Linked DNA regions of Homo sapiens: all the other regions are linked to region 2. The links are contacts of gene promoters, found by promoter capture Hi-C in human tissues and cell types (Jung and others, 2019). All regions are on one chromosome and are shown on one strand. The core of a region is centred on a gene start or on the middle of the fragment in contact, and the rest is flanking DNA. Distances in the headings are between cores, read along the strand shown. Region 1 overlaps ADAMTS12 (ADAM metallopeptidase with thrombospondin type 1 motif 12). Region 2 holds the start of ADAMTS12 (ADAM metallopeptidase with thrombospondin type 1 motif 12). Region 3 overlaps ADAMTS12 (ADAM metallopeptidase with thrombospondin type 1 motif 12).

Region 1 (3,926 bases), core at 1,041-3,540, 250 kb before region 2:
TTATTTTAGAAAAATCACTTTTTGATTTTTCTTTCCTTTGTGATACACCTGAGGGCATACCAGCCTTCCTGTCAGGATCAATGGGTCTCTCAAAATGGGAGAGGGGAGACGTGAAGAAACTATCCTTTGAGAAGGTTCCCAGGCATGCCTTCTGGTCTCCATCTTGCTGCAGTATCTGAATCAGGGAGTGTGCCTCCTATCGCAGGAGTGCCAATAGCCTGGAGTTCGAATTTGGTATTATCTTTTTGTTAGATGGATCTGAATAAGTTACCTCATTTCTCTGAGCCTCAGTTTTTTTTCGTTTGTAAAATGAGCATAATAGTTTTTATCTCACAAGTTGTATTGCATGAGACAATGCACACACAGATTTAGTAGAGTAACTAACACAGAATGAGAGATCAATAACTGAGAGCATTTTTTTTGGTTATCGTGAATAATAATCAACCAGCATTTATATACTACCATGTGCTCAACACTGTTCAGGGAGAAGAGAGTGCAAATGAAGGTCAACCCATGCTCTATGCTTCCTAGAAGTTTATAATTTGGTTGAGGAGAAAAAAATGAGCTATATAAGAAATGAGAGAAAATTTAAGACAGCAATTATGTATCCCAGACTGAAAGTACAATGAGAGTTATGTGAAGGGGAAAGCCATGGAAATGAGGCTAGTTGGGAAGGATTTACGGAAGGGCTTGTCCTGGAGAATGGTCTTAAAGGACGACTGGAAAGTCCTTCTCAGTGCAAAGGCAGAAGGCATGTCGAGCGAGCAGTCCAGATGAAATCGTATTCCAGGGACACAGAAAGCTAGAACAGCTCCCCAAAGGACACAGGTGGTAGTGGCAAAGCCAAGACTTGAATCGTCGTCTTCCTTGATCCAAAGCCTGAGCTCTTATCCACTATGTTACACTGCCTGACCACAAAATCCTGAGAGACAGAGAACTCAAATCCTGGCAGTCTAGTCAAGTACTGGTTGCAGCTGTAATTCTTGTTGATTCTGCTGTACTTTGTTCTCCTTGAATGCCCATGAGATTTTCTATACCTCCCCTCCCTCAATGTGGCCTGAGTAAGCTTCTGTTCCTCACTCATGAAAGAGTTTTGACCAAGGCAGTTCACATAGTAGGCTCTTAATTTGTTGATTCCCTTTAGGAGGTACCAAGAATTGTCCTTGTTATTTAAGGTGAGGCTGGTTTTCTATTTGTGCTGATGCAGGGACACTCTATGACCTGGTATGTCTCCAATTCATTTCCATCCAATCAATATCACTGACAGCCTCTTATGAGCCGAGCTCTGCTGGGTTCTCACTAGACAGTTGACCTACAGCAAGGATGCAGTCCCAAGATCAGCTGGCTCATGCACTGGCCTGAATCTGTGACTTGAACCACAGATCCAAATCTATGATGCGGTGCCATTGGCAGTGTTAGCAATGAATTTAAGCAAACCGGCAATGAAGAACAGGCATGTCCACTCACCCAAAGAGACTCTATGACAAACTGTGGCCTTGGAGATGAGAATTAGAACTACCTTTCTCCTGAAGCCAGGTTAGAGATTCATCCTTCACCTCCTCAACTAGGAGTTCCCTTCTCTGATAGCCACAAGTCACTGACCAACCTGCCAAGAACTTTCACACTGGTGGTGTCTGAATATACAGCATTGACAATAAGTCCCAGAGCAAATTGCCTTTCTTTTCTGATCTCTCAAATGAAAATGGAAATCACATTTCTGGATCAAATGGAAACAAACGATTAAATGACAATTTTCTCTAAAAACAAAATACTCTATGAGAAACTCTTGGTTTTGAATTTTGAAAGTCACAGAAACCCAGTACTTAAATAAAACAACTTTCATCAAAGGGTGAAATTTTAAAATAATTTTGTGAAGAATTTCCAAATGCATGCTTATAAATGTGGTAAATGATAAAGATTCATAATAACTACTATTTATTAACACTTTATTATGTAGTAGATACTGTGTTAAATTCCTTACACATACTAACTTATTAACCCTTAGAAAAAATATATAATATATATAGTGTATATATGTATATATGTAATGTATACATGCATATATATTCATATATACATATACTTATATTTAAATACTATACATCTAGGTAATACAGTTATTAACAAAAAGGATAAATAACCTTTGGAATTGAGATATTGAGAGATAAAATCACTTTTATTGCTCGCCTTTTAAAAAATGTGACTCCTACTTTTCAAAGTAGATGAATGTAAATTTAGATAAAAGAAACAATATAATTTCCACTTAAAGGAGATATCACATATACACTTTTAAGAAATTACTTGGGAGACAGTATATCAGAAAATAATGAAATTAAGAATGTAATGTGTATTTGGAAAACAAGCAAGTTTAAATTTACCTCATATATAATATTATCATACAAATAGAATATATGAAAAATTAAGCAATTTGCTTAAACAATTGAAAGTCACTTGTAAAATAACATTTGCAGAATCCTTAACAGGCCACTGCGGAACTTTAGGGTTTATAAAAATCCTTATCGAAAAATATTAAAAATAATTGTCCTCAAAAATGTACCTGTTTTACTAGTTGCTTAAGGAAAGAATTATTCTCATAAAATTGTGTATTCATTATCATTGAAAGCAAGCTACAATCTTATCAGCAAAATTGCGTTTCACTAATCTCTACTGATAAAATTGAGTTATTTAAAAAGATTTAATTGTATAATCTCCTAGAGGCTTTCACATAGATTGCACATTTAAAAGAAATTTGCTTTATTTCCCCAAATGATAAAATCAGCTTACTTATCCAAGTTTTAGTGAGAATCCAGTGCCAAGCCGAAATGAAACAACACAAAACAGAACCACTTTTTTTCCCCACTCTCTGTGAATCTTCTTGTTCTGTTTTGTCCTGGGAACCCATTTAATTTACCTGGAGGAGGCTTGGGGTCACTGAGGTCATGCCATTCAAGACTGCCCCCCATCCCGCCCCCAGCACATGTGGAGAGAAGGGAAATATATTTATCTGGACTCACTCGGGGTTGTTGCAGAGCCTCTCTGCGCTCTGGACTCCAGCCCCACAGGTCCTGGAACAGTGGGACCAGGGTGACCAGCGGCCCCAGCCTCCAGGAATGCTCTCTGGTTTCTTCCCCACTGTGATGCACTTGCCTGCCATACACCACTGGAAAGGGAAGAGGCAGGAGATGGCCGTATCAGGAAGGTTACCAGAGCAAGCTGAGCCAAGAGCCCTAAAAGTCTAAACCCAATTCTCTGCAAGCAAGCCGGCTTTCTACAGTCACATATCAGATGTAAAACAAACAGGGGCTCATATAAGTTTCTGCCAAGAGTCGTGGGTTTTAGAATCAGAGAGTTTCAAGAATGGAAGGAAACTTTACGTTGCCTAATCACACAGGTGCTACACAGTGTGGTTGGCAGATCGAGCACGAGAATGTAAATCAACATACTACTTTTTTCATTGAGAAAGTCTTGTTAGGAAAAGCATGTCAGCTTAGTATGCTTAGCAACATAGTTGCTTAGTAACATAGTTGATTTGCTTTCTGGTGCATGATCCTTATCTTGTTGCAAACCACAATAGTTCACAGACTGGCACAGCGAATAGCACTTCTTTATAGCTCTCTGGGAACTTAATGACTGCAACAGAGAACTCATCCGCTGCAAAAAGTCAATTTCACTGCCAAAACACACTAGCTGTTAGGAAGTTCTTCATTACATCAAGAAAAAAATTACACTTTCTTTTAACTCTACCCATTGTTTGCAGCTCTGGCCTTTCAAGCAACTAAGAAAAAATCCACTCTCTCCCCTCTTCAAGGCAATCCTTCCACGACTATCGGTTTAGGAGAGTAAATATACAAAAATGAAAACAAAGGGAAATGCTATGTGGTTGTCGTGAATAACCACATTTCCTGGAGGATTTGGACATGTTTTAT
Region 2 (3,966 bases), core at 605-3,104:
TGCTTCACACCAAGCTGAATTCCCTTACAAAGAAGATGTGGAGCAGAGCTGAAAACCAACCCAGGAGAATGTGTGTCTTTGAACGAAATCATCTCCAAATGCCCTGGGAAGTGCTTGCAGGCTTTGTTTGTGCTGCCCCAGAAGGGAGACTTTTCACAAAGGAACTGTTTTTCAAAGAACAACAAGCCCTGCTATTTTAAACTTGGGGGTGGGAGATTGTATCTGGACCGTTTACACAAGTGAGTGCTGGCTGACTGACATCTAACCCCAGTGTTTGCTGGCTCCAGCTTTCCAAGTAAAGCAAAGAGAGGGACTTGCTTCTGATACGTCTTGAAGCCACAGCAGATGAGTTGTCCAGCAATATTTGAATTTTACAACATGAGCAGAAAACCCTGCTTAGAAATCCTAAACAAGGACAGGCTGGTGATGTTTATCACCCGAGTGGCCTTGGGAATTAAAGGGATGTCAGAAAGTCATGGAGGACACTTCCCGAGGCTTCAGCACAGTCAGCAAACACAGGACTTAGTGCATGCTAACCCAGTGCTCTGTGTGCGTGTGCATGCGTGTGGGTGCATATGCGTGTGTGTGTGCGTGTGTGTCCCTATTATTGCTACAGGACAGTGCTGCATGATTCTAAGAGTCAGACTACCTGAGCTGAAAACTCTGCTCTACATTAGCTGGCCTCATAAGCTCTCCAAGCTGCAGCATCCTCATCTGTACAGCAGGGACAGCAACACTGGTACCTGCACCCTGGAAGGCTATTGCCAGTGATCGGATGGGCTGACACAGAGTGCCACGCGGGCCATTGCTGCTGCTAGGACTGTTTACCCCCAGAGGTACAATGAACCCCCCACCAAACATGAAGGTGCCTCTGACCCTTCCAAGTCCAATAAACTGCTGACTGTTAGGCTTAAAAGAATAAAACAACAACAACAAATTGTCCACCAGAACGCTTCCAATGCTTCCTACAATAACATGAGTTCAGAAATTCATAAAGAGAAGCAGCCAGCTGTGGTCAGTGAGACAGGACAGGAAAAAGTGAGCCCTTATGGAGGTATAGTTCCCCCAAAAGGACTATTCTTTCAAAAATACAACCCTAAATCTTTCCAGGAAACCAAAACACAGCCAAGCCTGCTCAGTAGGGGGGAAGAATCACATTTCCCCTTTCCTGACCAGAGGTTTAAAACTAACTAGAAACACTGCAATGACGGCCAGTAGCCAGTTAGCACTTAAAAAAAAAATTTTCCATGTTTAGAGTCTGAAAAATAGGGGATCAAAACAGTACAGCATTCAAAGAGGAGACAAAAGAGAAAAAGTTACCAGCTACCTCTTGGGTCTTTCAAAGACTGCAGTGTCATCCCTGTAAAAGAGTGAGGTACTCACCTTTCTATAAGAATGAAGGACTCATCACCTTAAGCACTGAATTCTGAGAAAGCCTAGGCTCCTGAGGTCCCAGCCCAGATTTCCTTACAACGCAGCCAAATGGCTTTTCAGAGTTCAGTTCTGCCGGGTGGGGGAAGGGAAAGGGGAGCAACAAAATTCCCGCAAGTCTTACCACCACTGTTTTAAAAAGAAATAAAGAAGAGTCACTAACCTTGCCTCCTGTCCGGGAAGCGAACCGGGCCTGGCTGAGGCTGTCTCCCATAGCAAAGCGCCCCAAAGTTAAGGAGCTGAGCCACCACGGAAAGGTTTGCAAGCCAGCTCCTCTGGGCACATGGCATGATTCAGATGTTGAGGAGAAGAAAAGTCAAAAAAGTTTTAGCCCTCAGCTCCAGAAATAAAGCGCTCGCCTGTGGCCCAGCAGGAAGATGCAGGGGTGCATGGTCAGGCGCGAGAAGGCAGCGACTGCAAAGCTGCCCGCGATCTCCCTGTGCTTTTTTAAGCAGAAAGGAGCTAGACACCTTTTTCCCCTCCCTCCTCCTAAAAGGGGAGTGATTCAGCTGACAGTGTCCGCTTTCGGCGGGGTGTGGAATGGGCCAGAGCGGGAGGGCGCAGCCCACCCCGGTCCCCACCCCTCCGCCTCCCGCATGCCCCGCGGCCTCGCAGCCCGCCCGCTCGGTGCATCTTCCTCCCGGACTCCCACCCCCGCGCTCCTCCGGCCCCGCCCCGAACGCCAGGCCCAGCTGGCCGAGCCGGCCAAATAGGGGAGACCCGGGAGAGCCGCCCTGGGAGGCACTGGAGGAAGCTGCGAGTGAGAGGCCCCCAGGCCAGCCCCCCGGCGTGCTTAAATACAAGCTCAAAATGAGGAGAACAGAGTTGAGGCAGAGGGGGGCCCCACTCCCTCCATCCTTCCGCGCTCAGCGCTGCCCCCTCCCCTGCTGTTCTCCTCCAAGTTCCTGAACTTTTCCCAACATCGCTCTATCAAGACTCCTCACCCACTCGGACCGCTCTGGGATTCTCTTCCACTGGAAAAACTAATAGGCGATTTTTCTCTTTGCCAAGTCACACAAAGGGAAATGGGCTGCGCTAATCTGCTAATGTGACCTCAGACAAGCCCCCTCAGCTGTGCAATGAGGTGACTGCTGCAAATGCCTGTGGGCCCCTCTGAGTCTGCAGATCTCTGTGCGGCTCTTCTGATTCTAGAACCCCATCTTTCCTAGCCCACCTCCATTCACTCAAAAGGAAACCAGGAATTAAGTCAACCCAGGAAGGTGTTAAGGTATCTCCCCAGTTTCCCTGAACTGGCTACCCTGGAGAGGGCGTCCATTCATTCAGAGGCTCAAGCTTTTACATCGGTCAGAGAATGCCACAATCCAGGACGCTTGCCAGGCATCTTGAGAATTTACTGGGCTAATCCAGCCAAGATTTTTCACCTCTGAGCTGAAACAGGCCTCCTTACTCCATTCAGGAAGAATTCGGCCCCCAATATTGACTTTTCCCTGGCTGCCAGCCAACCACATGTGTTAATCAAGAGTTCTGGGATACCAGCTTACTCAACCTTGTATAGGGACAGAGCCTCCAAGGCAAACTCAGTGGTCTGAAAGCAAGGTGGTCCTCTCAGATGTGGAACACATGGGCACCAAGACTTTGAGAGGTATATGCTAGTTTCCTATTTTTGGTGTTACAAGTTACCATAAATTCAGTGGCTTGAAACAACTCAAATTTCTTATGTGACAGTTCTGATCTGAAACTGGTCTCACTGGGCTAAAATCAAGGAGTTAGCACAGCTGCATTCATTTCTGAAGACTCTAGGGGAGAATCTGTTGTCTTGCCTTTTCCAACTTCTAGAGGCTGCCTGAATTCCTCAGCTCATGGCCCTCTTCCCCCATCAAAGCTAGCAATGGCCCTTTGAGTCTTTCTCACATCACATCACTCTTCTTCCTCCCTTTTCCACTTATAAGGACCCTTGCGATTACATTAGACTCATCCTGGTTAACCAGGACACTCTCCTAATCAGCTGATTAGCAACCTTAATTCCATCTGCAACCTTAAATCCCCTTTACGTGTAACAGAACATGTTTTGTTGTCACAAGCAAGTAAAAGAACTACTCTGAGCCTTTTTTCTGTTACGTAAACATTAGGAAGCAGGATCACAACTGGAGTTAAAAGACATTCAGATAACACAGGCATGATGACCTGCATTTGCAAGGGCATTGAAGAACAACTTTGGGCTAGAATTCTTTTTGCTTCTTTTCTTTTCTTCCTCTTCCCCTTCTTCTTTGCTTCCCTTCACCCTTTCCTTGTTTCTCTCTCCTCCTTGTACTCTTCTGTCACTCTTCTTCTTCCACCTTTTTTTCTCCTGCTGCTCCTTTTAATAGCAAGCAAGATCTTGTCCAAAGGGCAAGATCACTCCTAGCTCCCAGGTCCTGGAGAAGAGATTTGTCTCTCAGGCAGAAACCTGAAGAACTCTGGAGAACTGCTGAGTTCCACCAATATCAGGGATGATACACTGAACACTCTGGCTTCACAGTTTAGCCTCTTCAACTCTAATGGCATTTCCCTTATTCTTTCTCCCATCTACTCTCA
Region 3 (3,701 bases), core at 883-3,382, 140 kb before region 2:
GCTGTTCGGGGAATCAAATGAGGTGAAGCTTGTAAAAGTGCCATGCAAACTGCTTTATAAATGCAGAGGGGTAATACTTTAACTACCAACGCCAATAGCAGTTACATCTGACATAATTTGCTTCTATGCTTACATTGCTTAGAAAACATGACATTTTTTTCAGTATCTGTCTCTAAGGACAATCTCTGGAACAGGAAGGAAGAACGGACAAGGCCCAAAGACAGTTGTCAAATAACTGCCATAAAATAGTGGGAAACAGACTCTGTGCAGTACTGAGATTTGGTTCCGTTTCTCCTCTGAGTCAGAGACCAGGCACAAGAGGAAAATGTGAGCCTGTTGTCAGAAAGCTCATTTGTTCTATGGAAACAAAGCAGAAGTCCAGGAGTCCTCAAAGATGATTGGACCTAGGGGCCCTTAGTGTACCTGCTATCAGCCCAATACTGATGTCCTTGAAGGAGAAAAACTACAAAAGACACCACCAAGATGAAGGAGTTATTGATATTTCCTCAGCCTCAAATTTTGGACCCAAGCGGCACAGAAGAAACAGATGGGGCTCCACTTGAGGACATAATAACCATTTTACGGGCAACATGAATAAGAAAGCCTGAGAACCAAACCAGCATCTTCCTAAAGGCTTACTCCATTTGCATTCCTCCACAAAGTGGTCTTGCCAGGGTGCACGCGGAAAATCACCTATTCAACCTCAATATTTCTCAGAAGCTACCTGGAAACCTGTGAGAGCTGCTGACTCATCCACTAGAGGAGAAGCCAGAGATCTGCTGACATGCAAGTAGGCTGCTGGTCCCAGGATCTCGTGTGTTTGTCACAGAGAAAGGAATAGGTAGGAGAGGGGATGAAGCAGCTGTAGGGAGAGTGAGGTGGGGAATTCCTCATCTGAGCTCTGCACCTCTTCTCTCTCCCAACATATAAACACAGGGCTTTGTACATCTAGTACCCAGGTGGGCCCAGTTTATTGATCTCTTCTCATCTAACTGGAGCCAGGGTCATGCTAGAAAAAAATCACCCGTGGTTTGCTTTCCAAAGAAAGGGCTGGCCCCATACTTTCCCTGAAGCAAATTGCCCAAGAGAACCACCTTCTTCTGTTACAAGGTCTGTACCTTATCCAAAGAAAATAGTTTCCATTCTGGTCTCCTTTGCAACCTGCCCACTTCTCTTACATCTTTAAAGGAGAATGGAAATGGAATTGAGGAAAAAGTATCCAATTTAGTGAGGACTTGCACTGGGCATTCAGAAGAACCTGGGCAGGATGAGCCCTAGGCTAAAGCTCGAAGATAAACATGCCCCTTCACCTCCTGTGCCATCTGCTCTTCTCCCACCCAGTATCCAGGAGTCTCTGCATACTGCTAACTGTCTTTTGGAAATAAACTCACCTACTTGTTTTAACTAAGTTAAAAACATCTGGCTGGGCACGGTGGCTCATGCCTGTAATCCCAGCTCTTTGGGAGGCCAAGGTGGGTGGATCACTCAAGGTCAGGAGTTCGAGACCAGCCTGGCCAACATGGTGAAACAGCATGGTGAAACCCTGTCTCCACTAAAACTACAAAAATTAGCCAGGTGTGGTGGCACGTGCCTGTAATCCCAGCTACTTGGGAGGCTGAGGCAGGAGAATTGCTTAAGCCTGGGAGGCGGAGGTTGCAGTGAGCCGAGATTGCGCCATTGCACTCCAGCCTGGGAGACAAGAGGGAAGAAAACTCCATCTCAAAATAAATAAATAAATAAATAAATAAGTATCTGTGAATGCTTCCCAAGTCTACTAAAAACTGTTTTAAATAAACTTTATTTTGAAGCATTATAAACATATGGAGAGATGTGCAAAATCCTAGTTGTAAATCCTCATAAATGTTTTATAAAAAGAACACCTAGATGCAGAAATAGAACATTACCAGCAGCTGAGAGACTCCCTGTTCCCTCTCCAGATCAATAACATCCCCCAAGGGTAACAATGATCCTGATTTCCAACACTGAAATGTTAGTTTTGAGCCTATTTTGAATTCTTTGGAGGAAAAAATATTTGATATACGCACAAACACAAAAAGGCTACTAGTTCATTTCAAGAGTTAGGGGCTGACCAATAAAAAAGATTTTGTTACAGTGGGCGAATTTCCCCTGGCTTATTAAATCAGACTCTTCATATTGCTTTAGGAGAAATATGGCAAGCCCAGATGGTAGGGATAAGACCAAAGGCTGAGATGCATTGGTGTGAGCCAGCTGGTATTTGACCTCCACTGCTCTTTGATGAGGAAGGATGGGGAAGGATTGTTGCACTCTTCAGAACAGTCCCAGAGTGAGAAGAGTTGCCTGTAATCTCTCCTCCCTCCCCTCAACTTGCATCAACATATTAGTCATCTTGATGTATGTGATATTTTACTTCAATTAGTGACAGTGATCTGGGGTTAGAGGGAAACTGACAGCATCTTATATGGAATTTGTGAATAGAATGTTCTAGAGTCACAGAGACTAGAGACCTTGAAGAGTCACCCACCCCATGCTGTTGTGCCTTCTGGAGTACCACAAGTAAAGCCTGAAGGGTAAGAGCCAATGATAGTGTAAAAGACACATGAAGGCACCCCAGACTTGTGTGATGGAACTGTGCTTCTGAAACCATCACCCTGCCTTGAAAATTCCTTTTACTCATTTGAAAATCGCAGATGTTACCAGATGAATTTGTTTATTCTTGTAGTGACAAAGACAACACAACACATTCCAAAATCAAGAACAGAAAAAAAATTGAGGATAAAGAGGTACCCAAGGTACCCAATAGTATACGAAGCACTGGAAAAGACATCACCTGTTCCCCATCATATAGGCAGGAAAAAGGATAAAATAGCACCCCAAAAATTCCTCTTACAAAGTATCAATCTATATCTATCATAGGGTCAGCCCTGTGCTGAGAGGGCTAAGAAAGGTACTGACCCTGCCCTCAAGGTTTATATGCAATCCAGCCATGAAGACAAGGCTGATGTTCATTAACAAGTAGGGAAGGGAACAGCAAAGCCCAGGGTAATTTTATGCTGAAAAGGACTTAGTGTTCACACAACTCAAGAGGCAAACCCATGGCCTCTGGTGGCACTGGGCCTAGAGCCCAGACCTGAAGTCCTGTGTCACAGAGCCCTTCCCCACAGAACACAGCCCTCACTGGAGCGGCACTTCCATGGGTGCTATGGATTCCAGCACTGTGTTTCGGAGGCCACTGAGAGTGGCTGCTTTTAGGCGGCGAAGCCAAGATTGAACTTCCACAGACTCCAGAACACTTGACACAGTCTTAAAGCCATGAGAGGCTCTCCAAATTATTATTTCTTGTTGCTGGTTTGCAAGAGACAGTTTTTTTCTCATGTAATACACAGCCAAAATAATAAGTCAGCAGAAAGTATAAGTCAAGAGATTATAGAAGCCTCAGAATAAAGAGAGGTGGGAGTAGGACCACCGGGAAGATTTCACCCAGCACACCCTACCCTCTGCTGTGATGCCTAAGTGGCCTCCATGAAGCCAATGAAGAGAGTGACCAGTGATGTCATCAATTCATGAAGATTTTGCATATGAGTCTGGGCAGCCCTAGTAACTCATGTGGTTTCAGGAAATATGGACTGAAGCCAGGAAGACATTGGTGTATCTGCCTGATAGTTACCATGACCCAAGCAGGTATCAGGGATACAGCAACACAACAGAGCTGGTCCCTCTGC

The links. Contacts are between HindIII fragments. The study calls those that stand out against the background at their distance.
Region 1: a fragment that was not itself captured here is called in contact with the fragment with the promoter of ADAMTS12 in region 2 in 4 of the 25 tissues and cell types used here (H1 embryonic stem cells, lymphoblastoid cells, mesenchymal stem cells and 1 more).
Region 3: a fragment that was not itself captured here is called in contact with the fragment with the promoter of ADAMTS12 in region 2 in 2 of the 25 tissues and cell types used here (lymphoblastoid cells and mesenchymal stem cells).

Annotation. Positions count from the first base shown.
Region 1 is chr5:33,638,796-33,642,721 of GRCh38, forward strand. It overlaps ADAMTS12 (ADAM metallopeptidase with thrombospondin type 1 motif 12), which reads right to left. Exons shown (of 24, transcript NM_030955.4): 11 at 3,015-3,160. Among named protein-coding and RNA genes, the nearest start is that of TARS1, 200 kb to the left of the region's middle. The HindIII fragment of the contact is 4,544 bases long and covers 19-3,926 here.
Region 2 is chr5:33,890,136-33,894,101 of GRCh38, forward strand. ADAMTS12 (ADAM metallopeptidase with thrombospondin type 1 motif 12) reads right to left here and starts at 1,855. Exons shown (of 24, transcript NM_030955.4): 1 at 1,595-1,855. The coding sequence starts at 1,721. RefSeq lists enhancers at 1,137-1,638, 1,639-2,138. The HindIII fragment of the contact is 6,841 bases long and covers 1-3,593 here.
Region 3 is chr5:33,753,140-33,756,840 of GRCh38, forward strand. The region is part of intron 2 of ADAMTS12 (ADAM metallopeptidase with thrombospondin type 1 motif 12); the gene reads right to left. Among named protein-coding and RNA genes, the nearest start is that of ADAMTS12, 140 kb to the right of the region's middle. The HindIII fragment of the contact is 8,072 bases long and covers 1-3,701 here.